4 separate regions of the Homo sapiens genome follow, and all the other regions are linked to region 2. Evidence: promoter capture Hi-C in 16 types of primary human blood cells and fetal thymus (Javierre and others, 2016). All regions are on one chromosome and are shown on one strand. The core of a region is centred on a gene start or on the middle of the fragment in contact, and the rest is flanking DNA. Distances in the headings are between cores, read along the strand shown.

Region 1 (2,700 bases), core at 83-2,582, 1.9 Mb after region 2:
AAAATACTTTATGAAGTGGTGGGTTTGTTTTTTTTTGTCAGTTTACTGTTGATTTAAAGATTTATTATGGTGCCTAAATTTATCTTGACCTTAACAAGTTTATCCGTCTGAAAAAGCTGGCTGGCAAAAAATGTCCCAAGTTGTCACAGTGTCACTGACCCTTATCTTGTCTCTCCTGAAAAAACTATAACTTTGCTTTTTCATGTAACATTTATGTTTATAGACTTATGCTAAATAGACGAGTAGAGCACACATTATTTCAGTAATAGTTTATTGCTACAGGCTTCTGTGGTAGCATAAACAGAATTGAATGTGTAGTAAGAGTTGTAGGTTCCAGTCCCAGCTTTTTTTTTTACTTAGACAAGTCACTCTCCAAGCCTCATTTTCTTCAGTTCAGATATAGAAATATTATGTAACACACAGGATTCAAAATCAAATGAGAGTTGTGTGAAAGTACTTTTTATAGTATGAAGTGTTATATAATGTTAGTGTCTTTTATCATCTTTATCAGGCTTGGTCAGTCTTCAACTAGTAATGAACCATGTAACTAGTTTATTACATACGTGGCTGAGAGAAATTTAATTGGATATAAATACCAGTGTGATATGTCATAAAATATGCTAATCTGTAGCCCATATTTAAATAGTTATTTATAGTACACTACATGTATCTGTATTATAAATAGGCTTTTAAGGACAAAGAGAACATCTCCTTATTAAGCTTTAAGAGTTTCAGAGAGAATGCATATATATGAAACTTTTTTTTTTCATGTTGTCTAGGTGTGGTAGTGCACACCTGTGATCCTACCTACTTGGGAGGCTGAGGTGGCAGGATCACTTGAGCCCAGGAGGCTGAGGCTGCAGTGAGCCATGACACTACTACACTCCAGCCTAGGTGACAGAGTGAGACCCTGCCTCAAGAAAAGGAAAAAAAAAGTTTAGCCTCAGAGTAGGGTTAGGGGAGTGTCACTGTCAAAAACAGTGGAGTTGAAAGGGAGCTGTTTAGAGAAGATGTGCTTGCTTTTGCACATGTTTGGGCAGGCATTTGTAGAAGTGGTGTCCTATAGAAAGTGGAAAGAGAAGACAGCATCTGATTTCTACATTCATTCAATAACTGTCTAGTGTCCTGACTATGATGTGGGAGAAATAAAGATGAATATAACTCCCACCTTGTTCTTGAAGACCCTATAATCTGGTGGGAGAAGCAGAATATAAACCAGATTCAAATAAATATTGTGATAAAATATACAGGCTAAGAATGCATGGGAAGAAGTGATTAACACACTAGTTGTGGAGTACAAAGGGTTTTATGGAGGACTGGATATTTTAACTGCACCTTGAAGATTGAGTACAATTTTGATAGGGAAGGAAAGAGCATGTAGCTGAAGAAAAAACACAAAAGTACATTGTATGGCTTGGGGAAATAAAGTAGTCTAGAGTGGCTCTATTAATAAGGTTTGTAAAGAGGTGTAGTGGTATATGATGCAGGAAAAGTAGGTTAGGGCAAAAAGAAAACAGATCAGTGCCTGATATGAATTATACACTGGGCCAAAAGTTTTTCATATTTGCTATTTCATTTAATTTCCATATAGCCATGCAAAATAGGTGTTTTGACATGGGGGGAAAACAGTCTCAGAGAGTTTTACTAATTTGTTCAAAGTCTCACAGATAATAAGTAATGGAGCTGAAATTTCAAACCAGGTTGTTACTTAACTCCAAAGCTGAAGCTATTTGTAATTTGGTAACTATCTCTAAATTAAAAAAAAAAAGGAAAAAAGGTTATATTCATTATAGGACTTTAAAAATATAAAGCACTTTCACATGTATTTGGTCTTTATAACTAGTCATTAATCCCAATTGATGGATGGGAAAATTGAAGCCCAGTGAGATTATTCAAGGTCACAGAGTGAATAAGTGGCAGATTGGAAATGCAACCCAAGCTTTCTGACTACAAAGTCTCAAGTCTTTCCACATCATTTTAAGAAGTCTGGAGATCCTTTTGTAAGCAGTGGAAAGAGTTAGTGAACATTTTTGAGAAGGGGGATGACATAAACAATAATGTTTAAAAAGATTAGTTTGAGTTCGCATGTGAGATGGTCTGGAATGGACAGAGACAAGAACATTAATTATTAAGCTATTGTAAAAATAGTAATGATGTAGACCTGAACAAAGAAAGTTTGGTGATAATAAGATAAAAGAAACAAATTAGAGGCATTTGGAAACAGAATTTACAGGATTTAGCTTCTGCCTGCATCTACCGTGAGATACGAGGACCGTGCCTAAATAATAATGGAGGTGGGGACAATGATGGTAAGAAGAGGTAGATTTGGATGGAGAGAAAGAAATAGCTATCCAAATGGATGTATCCAGTGAGAGTTGGACAGCGGAGATGTGGGATCATATAGTAGGGCTATGTAACAAGTCCCTCTATAGCAGGGTTTGTTTAAGCTAGACTGTAAGTACCCAGAGCCAGTGAGGGTCTGGTTTATTTCTGCATCCCCAGAGCCAGGACAGTCCTTGGCACTCAATAAATATTTGTTAACTTTGAAACTGGATAAAGACCTTTAAGGATGGTAGAATTTTTTGAAAAATGTTCAAAGACAGAAAGCAAAAAGAAGAAAATATTTGAGGAAAGATTTGATAGAAACCAAGAAGCATTATGTAAAGGAAGTCGTGGGGAGAGAGTTACAAGAGTGTGAGA
Region 2 (2,700 bases), core at 184-2,683:
CTCACGCCTGTAATCCCAGCACCTTGGGAGGCCGAGACGCGCGGATCACGAGGTCAGGAGATTGAGACCAGCCTGGCCAACATGGTGAAACCCCGTCTCTACTAAAAATACAAAAAATTAGCCAGTCATGGTGGCAGGCGCCTGTAGTGCCAGCTACTCGGGAGGCTGAGGCAGGAGAATGGTGTGAACCCAGGAGGTGGAGCTTGCAGTGAGCCGAGATCGCGCCACTGCACTCCAGCCTGGGGGACAGAACAAGACTCTGTCTCAAAAAAAAAAAAAAAAAAAAAAAAAGGCCGGGCGCAGTGGCTCACGCCTGTAATCCCAGCACTTTCGGAGGCCGAGGCGGGCGGACCACGAGGTCCGGAGATCGAGACCATCCTGGCTAACACGGTGAAACCCTGTCTCTACTAAAAAAAAAAATACAAAAAATTAGCCGGGCGTGGTGGTGGGCGCCTGTAGTCCCAGCTACTCGGGAGGCTGAGGCAGGAGAATGGCGTGAACCCGGGAGGCGGAGGTTGCAGTGACCCGAGATCGCGCCACTGCACTCCAGCCTAGGCGACAAAGCAAGACTCCGTCTTAAAAAATAAAAAATAAATAAAATAAAATAAATAAAATTCAGCCAGGCATGGTGGCACGCGCCTGTGATCCCAGCTACTCGGGAGGCGGAGGCTGCAGTGAGTCCAGATGGATCCACTGCACTCCAGCCAGGGCAACAAGAGAGACTCCACCTAAAAAAAAAAAAGTATCAGAAAAGCAATCAACTTGGAAATAGAATGCAGATAAAGTTGAGGTTGAGCACTGGATAAATGAAAAAGTTCAGTCAACAAACATTTACCTACTACCTACCAGGTGCCTGGAGTCATTACCAAACAGACCCTGCCCTCCTGCAACTTAAGACCTACAAATACCCGTGTAGAGTTAGAACCGGGGAGTGCTCTCGGGGGGGCCTAGGGCATAGTGCTTAGGAAGGACACAGAACAACGAGGGGGCGTCAGCACAGGCTTCTTTATAGGGTGAGATCTGAGGGGTGGGAGGCTGGGGGAGGGCCTGGGGGTGCGCACGCAGGGGCCCCCGGCTCCGGGAGCGGGACCGGCGGCAGAGGCCCCAGTGGGCCGCGCCGCTCTCTTAGTGTTTCTGGGGTCGCCTCACACTCCCGCCCGCTGCGACACCACTCCGGCCTCCGGGCGTGTCATTCCATCATTCAACTAACCCGGTCCCCATACGTGGGCCCAGGCGGGGTGCCCAGGCTCCGTGGTGGGGAGGAGACGCAAAGCGAACGCGGGTGGCCCCTGAGGGCGCCCTGTCCCTCCCGCGCGCGGGTAGTCACCTGAGCGGCTCAGCACCTCCCACTCGTGGGGCCTGCAGAAAATCGCGGCCAGGACCGAGAGCTCCTCCTGCACAGGCTCCGCCATGGCTGTGGGCCCCACCGCCTCAGCGCTTCCCCTTCCGCTGCCGCAGCCGCCGCCTCCACCGGCCAGGAGCAGCACTGCCCGCGGCCACCCGGGGGCGCCCCGCGCCTCCGCAACCGGGCGGGACGGGGGCGGGGCGAGACGGAGCTGGGGCGAAGCGAAACGGGACGTGGGCGAGGCGAGTCCGGGCGAGGGTCAGGGCAGACGGGGCGGGCGGGGCCCTTAGAAGTTCCGCCCAGAAGCTCCTGCTCAGTAACTACAGACGCGAAGCTCAGCCTCTCGGTTTGGGAATTTTCTTGGAGGCCGAGGCCCTGCGCCTCTGTCTGCACCCAAGGCGACCGCCCAGCTTACCCCCGGCTCTTCTGAGCACAGGGAGGCCTCCCAGCAAAGCCTGAACCCTCTAAGTTTAGCTGCAGGCTTCGAACCCCGACCGTCCCCGCCGAGCCTTGGGCTGCTGAGGTGGGGATGAACTGGGCGAAAGACACTTGGGAGTTAGGAAGAAACAAACAAGCAGGGAAGTGACCAGGAGACAAGGTGAGACTTTGCCCGGCTCAGGTCTGAACTGAGTGTTGGAGATAACCACAGTTAACAAAATAAACAAAATTATTCGCCCCCGTGGAGCTGTTAGCAACCCTGGTGCCTGGGAAGCCTGGAAGAGGCTCGGGTTAGTAACAACCTCCAGGATGCCCTCCGAACTGGTACTGGCGCCGGGACTCTAGACAAGGTCCAGATTCCCGGGCCCTTCCCCTTACGGGTGCAAAAAGGGAGGGTCAGGACCTGCCAGTCCTGGCTTCAGGATGTTGACTGGACGGACCTGGACTCATGGGAACTGTGCGCCAAAGTCCTGGGAGCAAAGTGTCATAACGCTCCTCGTTTGTCTCTTGCCTTCACAGGAGACAGCCCTGCTGCAAGCGGCCAGTGGGAATCCTTGGCCTTTGGGGGTATGATCCAAGAATGTAAACGCTAGCTTTTCAGTGTTTTCGATTTCGTGATATTCAATGCATACAATACAATGTGACTCTTGAAGCTTAATAATAAAATTATCATTCTTGAGCCCAGCACCTAAATTTTAAAATGTGAGCAATACCAATAGGGTAACAGAATAAGCAATCCATTCTGTTTTGACTATAGTGAACAAGATTACAAGACTTATCTGCAGTTAGGTCTGTCTCTCGGATGTTTGCCTGGTCTTTTTGCTGTTCAAATAACAGTTTAAAATTTGGCAGTCCCCACAAGCAGCTGGTCTTGCTCATGGAGTTCTCACAACTTTTGTTTGTATGAGAAATCACAT
Region 3 (2,700 bases), core at 161-2,660, 1.4 Mb after region 2:
ATTTACCATAAAAATATGAAATGTTAGCCTGGGGAATGAGAAAATCACTGCCTTGGGTTCTTCATGGAATGGCTCATTCATTTGACATTATGGAGCCAGGTGTTGGGTGTGCACCTGTAGTCCCAGCCACCCAGGGAGGTTGAGGTAGGAGGATCACTTGAGTCCCAAGAGTTCAAGGCTGCAGTGGTCACTACTGCACTCCATCCTGGGCCAACAGTGAGACCCTGTCTCAAAAAATAAAATAAAATGATGAAAAATATATTTATTTAGAGTTTTTTTTCAGGAATTCCTCATAAAAATAAGATGCTTTTTTTTCTTTATTGTGGACAATACAAGGGAAGAGAAGAATAAGTGATTTTTTAAAATGCCATCTTATATGTTTCCATTTTGATTTAATTACTTGATCTTTAAGTGATGATTTCTTTTTCAGTCTGAAGTTGACAAGCAGCAGCATAGACCCTGGTCTGAGTATCAAGCAGTTGGGTGGTTTGTATATTAATTTTAATGCAGATAAACTACAGTCTAACAAGAGAACCCTAACACAGATCAAGGAGAAAAAGAAAAATGAGGTAAGTTAATTGTGCTGTTAGGTTTTCACAGAACTAACCAATCACTTTTAGAAATTAGTCCTTGGTAAAAGACTTAATTTTCCTACAGTGAAACCACATTGGCCTAATGTGTTAGTTTTTTCCTTCTCTCTAAAACAGTCATTTCTTTTTACAATAAAATCCTATCTATGAATGATAATGCTTTAAAAATAAATCAATACAGGGTCAGTGTTCCTCATCTTACACCCACCAATTATGATCCCAGGGGTTTTGTTTTTTTCCCTTTTCTTGCTATACTTTTAGTTCTTAAGTTCTTAACTAGTGTAGACTGTTGAGAATCTGAAAGCTGTGAATGCCTGCCTGCCTCTTCCACCCGGAAAAAAATGCACATGTGCATATAGACATTTTACATATAATTTCAGAAGGAATTACTGTTAAGGTAACTTTACCCAAACCCTTAGCTTTAGCCAACACCTTGCACTGTTTTCTCCTAAATCTATATTTTCTAGCCTTGATGCTTCTCACTGTCACTTTCAGACCTTTAAATCCAAGTACCTATTTGTTCATTTAGATGTCCTCAGGTACTTGACGTCACTAATTCCCCTTTCCCTGCCTGAACCAGGAATCCTCTTCTTGTATTCTTTTTTCTGGCTAATGAAACCAAACTCTCTTTTCCTTTTGTAGTCAGTCACCAAGCCTCTAGGGGAAGATATTTCTCTGCTTCCTCCTTTTCAAGCGACTGTCACCAGCTAGTGCAGGCCTTTGCTTCTCATCTGGACTACTCCAGTGGCTTCCTTATTGATCTTGTTTTCATCTTGTTCTTCAAGCCATCCTCCACACTTCTAGATTTCTCTGTCTAAAAACACAAATCCGGCTGGGCAAGGTAGCTCACATCTATAATCCCAGCACTTTGGGAGGCTGAGGCAGGAGAATTGTTTAAGCCCAGGAGTTTGAGACCAACCTGGGCAACATAGCTAGACCACATCTCTCCTCCCTGCCCCAAAAAACACACCACACACACAGATGTGACAGTATTCTCTTGAATCCTTCAAAGTACCTCTCTACCCCACCCAGCTGTCATCTGCTCTATTCTTGCCACTGAAGACTACTGTAGTTGCCTGAACTTACCCTGCTTTTCCCCAAGCAAGTGCAAAATAATTGATCGTTGCCCTTGGGGAATATTTTACCTCCAGTCCTTCTCACAACCCCTCTGTTTCCATAACATCTAGCATAGATCTGATTCATTGTTGATCATGTGATATATTAACTTACCATCTTTTCTTTATATTCCTAAAACAGGGTTTTTCAGTCTCAGCACTACTGATGTTTTGGGCTGCATAATTTTGTTGTGAGATGTTCCGTGCATAGTAGGATGTTTAACAGCATCCCTATCTTTTGCCCACTAGATGTCAGTAGCATTCTTCCTTATCCTCACCACCACCAAAAATGTCTCCAGACATTGCCAGATGCTCCCAGTTGAGAACCACTGTCCTTGAATGTACTACAGTACTTGACTCACAGCAAACTCTTAATCATTTGTTAAGTAAATATCATGCCCCCTTTTATGAGTGATAGGAAAGCCTAGACGGCTACCTATACCACACAGAAACATCTAGGCCTGAACCTGAATTGTGTGCCTGACTGTTAATTTCTGAGTTGATCATTTCAAATGTCAGTCCCAAATTAATGCTTGTACTATATTCCTGTAAACTATTTTGAGGGCTACAGAGCAGTCTTACTTGGTTCTTGTACTGAGAAAAATACTAATTAACCTGAGGTTCCTTTAGTCACACAGAGTTTTAGGAGAATATAATCATCCTAGTCAAGTAACAAAAGTACAGAAATCATTTAGGAAAAGATAAACAGATTTGACTGCACAAATTTATTTATTTATTTTGGAGAAATGGCGTTTTCTTATGTTACCCAGGCTAGTCTTGAACTCCTGGCCTCAAGTGATTGTCCTGCCTTGGCCTCCTAAAGAGTTGGGATTATAGGCATGAGCCATCGTGCCTGGCCTTTTTTTTCTTTTTTCTTTTTTTTTTTGGGAGGGAGCTGGGTTTGGGGGGAGACAGGGTCTCACTCTGTCACCCAGGCTGGAGTGAGTGGCACAGTCATAGCTTGCTGCAGCCTCAAGCTCCTGGCCTCAAGTGAT
Region 4 (2,700 bases), core at 133-2,632, 1.5 Mb before region 2:
GAAAGATTTTGGGCTGGGTGCGGTGGCTCACGCCTGTAATCCCAGCACTTTGGGAGGCCGCGGCGGGCGGATCATAAGCTCATGAGTTAGAGACCAGCCTGGCCAACATGGCAAAATCCCATCTCAACTAAAGATACAAAAATTAGCCGGGCCTGGTGGCGGGCGCCTGTAGTCCCAGCTACTCGGGAGGCTGAGGCAGGAGAATCACTTGAACCCGGGAGGCAGAGGTTGCAGTGAGCCAAGATAGTGCCACTGCACTCCAGCCTGGATGACAGAGGAGTGAGAATCCATCTCAAAAAAAAAAAAAAAAAAATTTCGATGTGGCCACTTACGAGGTATCGGCTTAGTCCATAAAAAAATCCTTTTTCTGTATGAATCTCTTTCCTAATTCCTTGACCCTCTTCAAACAGATGGGCTTTCAACAGCCATATTTGTTCTGTGTGAGCCCAGTCTTTTAGGCCATAGCTGATTAGATCAGGAATGGGCCGCTTATCAAAGTGTGCCAGTCAGATTCTTCCACACGGAAGTTAAGAAATAAGAGAAAAGACTCTGTTGGCCCTCTTTTTTCATTAGAAATGTAACGTCAACTCAGAAATAGTGGATAGCCAGTTTCTACAATGTGGGCTAAGAGGAGAGATAACTGATCTAAAGAAGGGAAAAAAGAATGAAGCTGATGTAGAGAGAACAAAACTAAGTGACAGAGACTATATCTACAATGGCTTTCCAGTTCCTAGTTCCAGTATTTCCTAAGATCCAAAGCTAATCTTTCCCTTGAGTCTCTCTCTCTCTTTGTCTCTGTCTCTGTCCGTGTGTGTCTCTCTCTTTTCTTTAAGCCAGTCAAGTTATTTCTATGACTTGCAACCAGATTCATAACCAATAAAACTTTTATTTTGCTTTTAACCTCTTTTTATCTGTATTTAAGTATCTGAGTTAATCAATGAAATCTATCACTTATATAAAAAAGTAAAAATAAGATTCTCTCTACACATTAATTGTAATTGCATACACTGTGAATTAATTGAAAACAATGAAGCCAGGTGCAGTGGCTCACACCTGTAATCCTAGCACTTTGGGAGGCCAAGGCAGGCAGATCACCTGAGGTCGGGAGTTTGAGACCAGACTGACCAACATGGAGAAACCCCGTCTCTACTAAAAATACATAATTAGCCAGGCGTGGTGGTGTGTACCTGTAGTTCCAGCTACTTGGGAGGCTGAGGCAGGAGAATTGCTTGAACCTGGGGCAGGGCGGAGGTTGCGGTGAGCTGAGATGGCACTATTGCACTCCAGCATGGGCAACAAGAGCGAAACTCCATCTCAAAAAAAAAAAAAGAAAACAATGTCATATGACATTTTTTGCAATGCATTACTTGCTTTACCATCACTACCATCACACTCATAGCTGACAAGAAGTTCTAAAAAAATTACGATAGCAGTTCTACGATGCTGAGTATTTTAGGGCTGCACGAAAGTACTATATCTTTCTATTTGGGTATTACGAAACCATTATTATGTCCTACTCACTTTGAGAAGTATTAGTATTTTTGATTCCTAGCCTTTCTCTAGGCTGTTTTATGTTCTTTCAGGTTTAGATGGTGGTATTGTGAACACGATAAAACCAAAGTTACAGATCAAAGGAGGAGGCTAAACATTTTTGAAAAGTAGAAATGGCACATAAGTTCAGGGATAGGGAAGAAAGGCTTTTTTCTTTGACATTGTTTGCAAATAAGAAAAGCAGTAACTATCAAGTTTACTTCAAGTTTTGGGGTATGGGAGTTTATAAGGATTTATAAGGAAACAAGCACAATCATTTGACCAGGACTCCACCATGTGAATTGGGCTCATAGAAGTCAGATCTAAATCCTGACAAGATGATTTTGCCTTTACTAATCTCCCCTTCTTCAGTGCACTGGAACAAAAACACTGGTGTGCCGGCAAAAGTTTAAGAAACGGCTCTTTGGCAGAGAAGCACTGCTTCATTGTGTCTGCTGATTTGCTTAATGTAAGTACTCCCACTATGGCCAATTTCAAGCTACAAATATGATAAACACAGAGTTGGGAAGAGATGCACATAATTAGTCCTCACGGGCCAGTACTAGCTGGCTCTAGCACACTGCTCATACAGGCCACCTTGTTATATCTAGAACATGCTGTCAAGCAGATCAGCCTCCGGCTCTACTTTTTGCCTTGAATGCCCATCTCCCACATCTTTGCAGTTTTCTCTCTTATTTCATTTAAGTATTGCTCAGAAGTGACCCCCTCAGAGAGGCCTTTCCTGATGGTTATATTTAAAATCATAACTATCCCATCACTCTCTATCCCCTTCTGTATTTTAGTTTTCTTCTTAGGGATAATCAGCCTAACATTACATTGTCTATGTTTAGTTGATTATTATTTGTCTCACCTCCCATCTCTTAAAACGCAAACTACATAAGAGCAGTGACTGCATATTCTGTTTTTTGCTGCTCTTCCCATATCTAGAACAATTTCTGGCACAAAGTAAATAGCCAATAAATAATTATGGAATGAATTAATAAGTGGGCTTTGTTAAATTATCCAGTGGTGGCCGGGTACGGTGGCTCATGCCTGTAATCCCAGCACTTTGGGAGGCCAAGGTGGGTGGATCACGAGGTCAGGAGTTCGAGACCAGCCTGATCAACATGGTGAAACCCCGTCTCTACTAAAAATACAAAAATTAGCTGG

Evidence for each region. Contacts are between HindIII fragments. The CHiCAGO score rates a contact against its expected background, and 5 or more counts as called.
Region 1: a contact is called between a fragment that was not itself captured here and the fragment with the promoter of RWDD3 in region 2, in 1 of 17 cell types (non-activated CD4 T cells). The highest score is 5.6, in non-activated CD4 T cells.
Region 3: a fragment that was not itself captured here is called in contact with the fragment with the promoter of RWDD3 in region 2 in 4 of 17 cell types (non-activated CD4 T cells, total CD4 T cells, naive CD8 T cells and 1 more); the score reaches 8.7 in non-activated CD4 T cells.
Region 4: a fragment that was not itself captured here is called in contact with the fragment with the promoter of RWDD3 in region 2 in 1 of 17 cell types (naive CD8 T cells); the score reaches 5.0 in naive CD8 T cells.

What each region holds. Positions count from the first base shown.
Region 1 is chr1:93,341,214-93,343,913 of GRCh38, reverse strand. The region is part of intron 1 of CCDC18-AS1 (CCDC18 antisense RNA 1); the gene reads left to right. Among named protein-coding and RNA genes, the nearest start is that of CCDC18-AS1, 3.2 kb to the left of the region's middle. The HindIII fragment of the contact is 1,219 bases long and covers 723-1,941 here.
Region 2 is chr1:95,232,943-95,235,642 of GRCh38, reverse strand. It overlaps RWDD3 (RWD domain containing 3), which reads right to left and starts at 1,433. Exons shown (of 4, transcript NM_015485.5): 1 at 1,328-1,433. The coding sequence starts at 1,412. The region is part of intron 7 of TLCD4-RWDD3 (TLCD4-RWDD3 readthrough); the gene reads right to left. It overlaps RWDD3-DT (RWDD3 divergent transcript), which reads left to right and starts at 1,661. Exons shown (of 4, transcript NR_125949.1): 1 at 1,661-1,943. RefSeq lists silencers at 973-1,152, 1,363-1,692. The HindIII fragment of the contact is 4,366 bases long and covers 1-2,438 here.
Region 3 is chr1:93,873,514-93,876,213 of GRCh38, reverse strand. It overlaps DNTTIP2 (deoxynucleotidyltransferase terminal interacting protein 2), which reads left to right. Exons shown (of 7, transcript NM_014597.5): 3 at 431-569. Among named protein-coding and RNA genes, the nearest start is that of DNTTIP2, 4.3 kb to the left of the region's middle. The HindIII fragment of the contact is 7,821 bases long and covers 1-2,700 here.
Region 4 is chr1:96,708,050-96,710,749 of GRCh38, reverse strand. No RefSeq gene overlaps it. Among named protein-coding and RNA genes, the nearest start is that of PTBP2, 12 kb to the left of the region's middle. The HindIII fragment of the contact is 8,514 bases long and covers 1-2,700 here.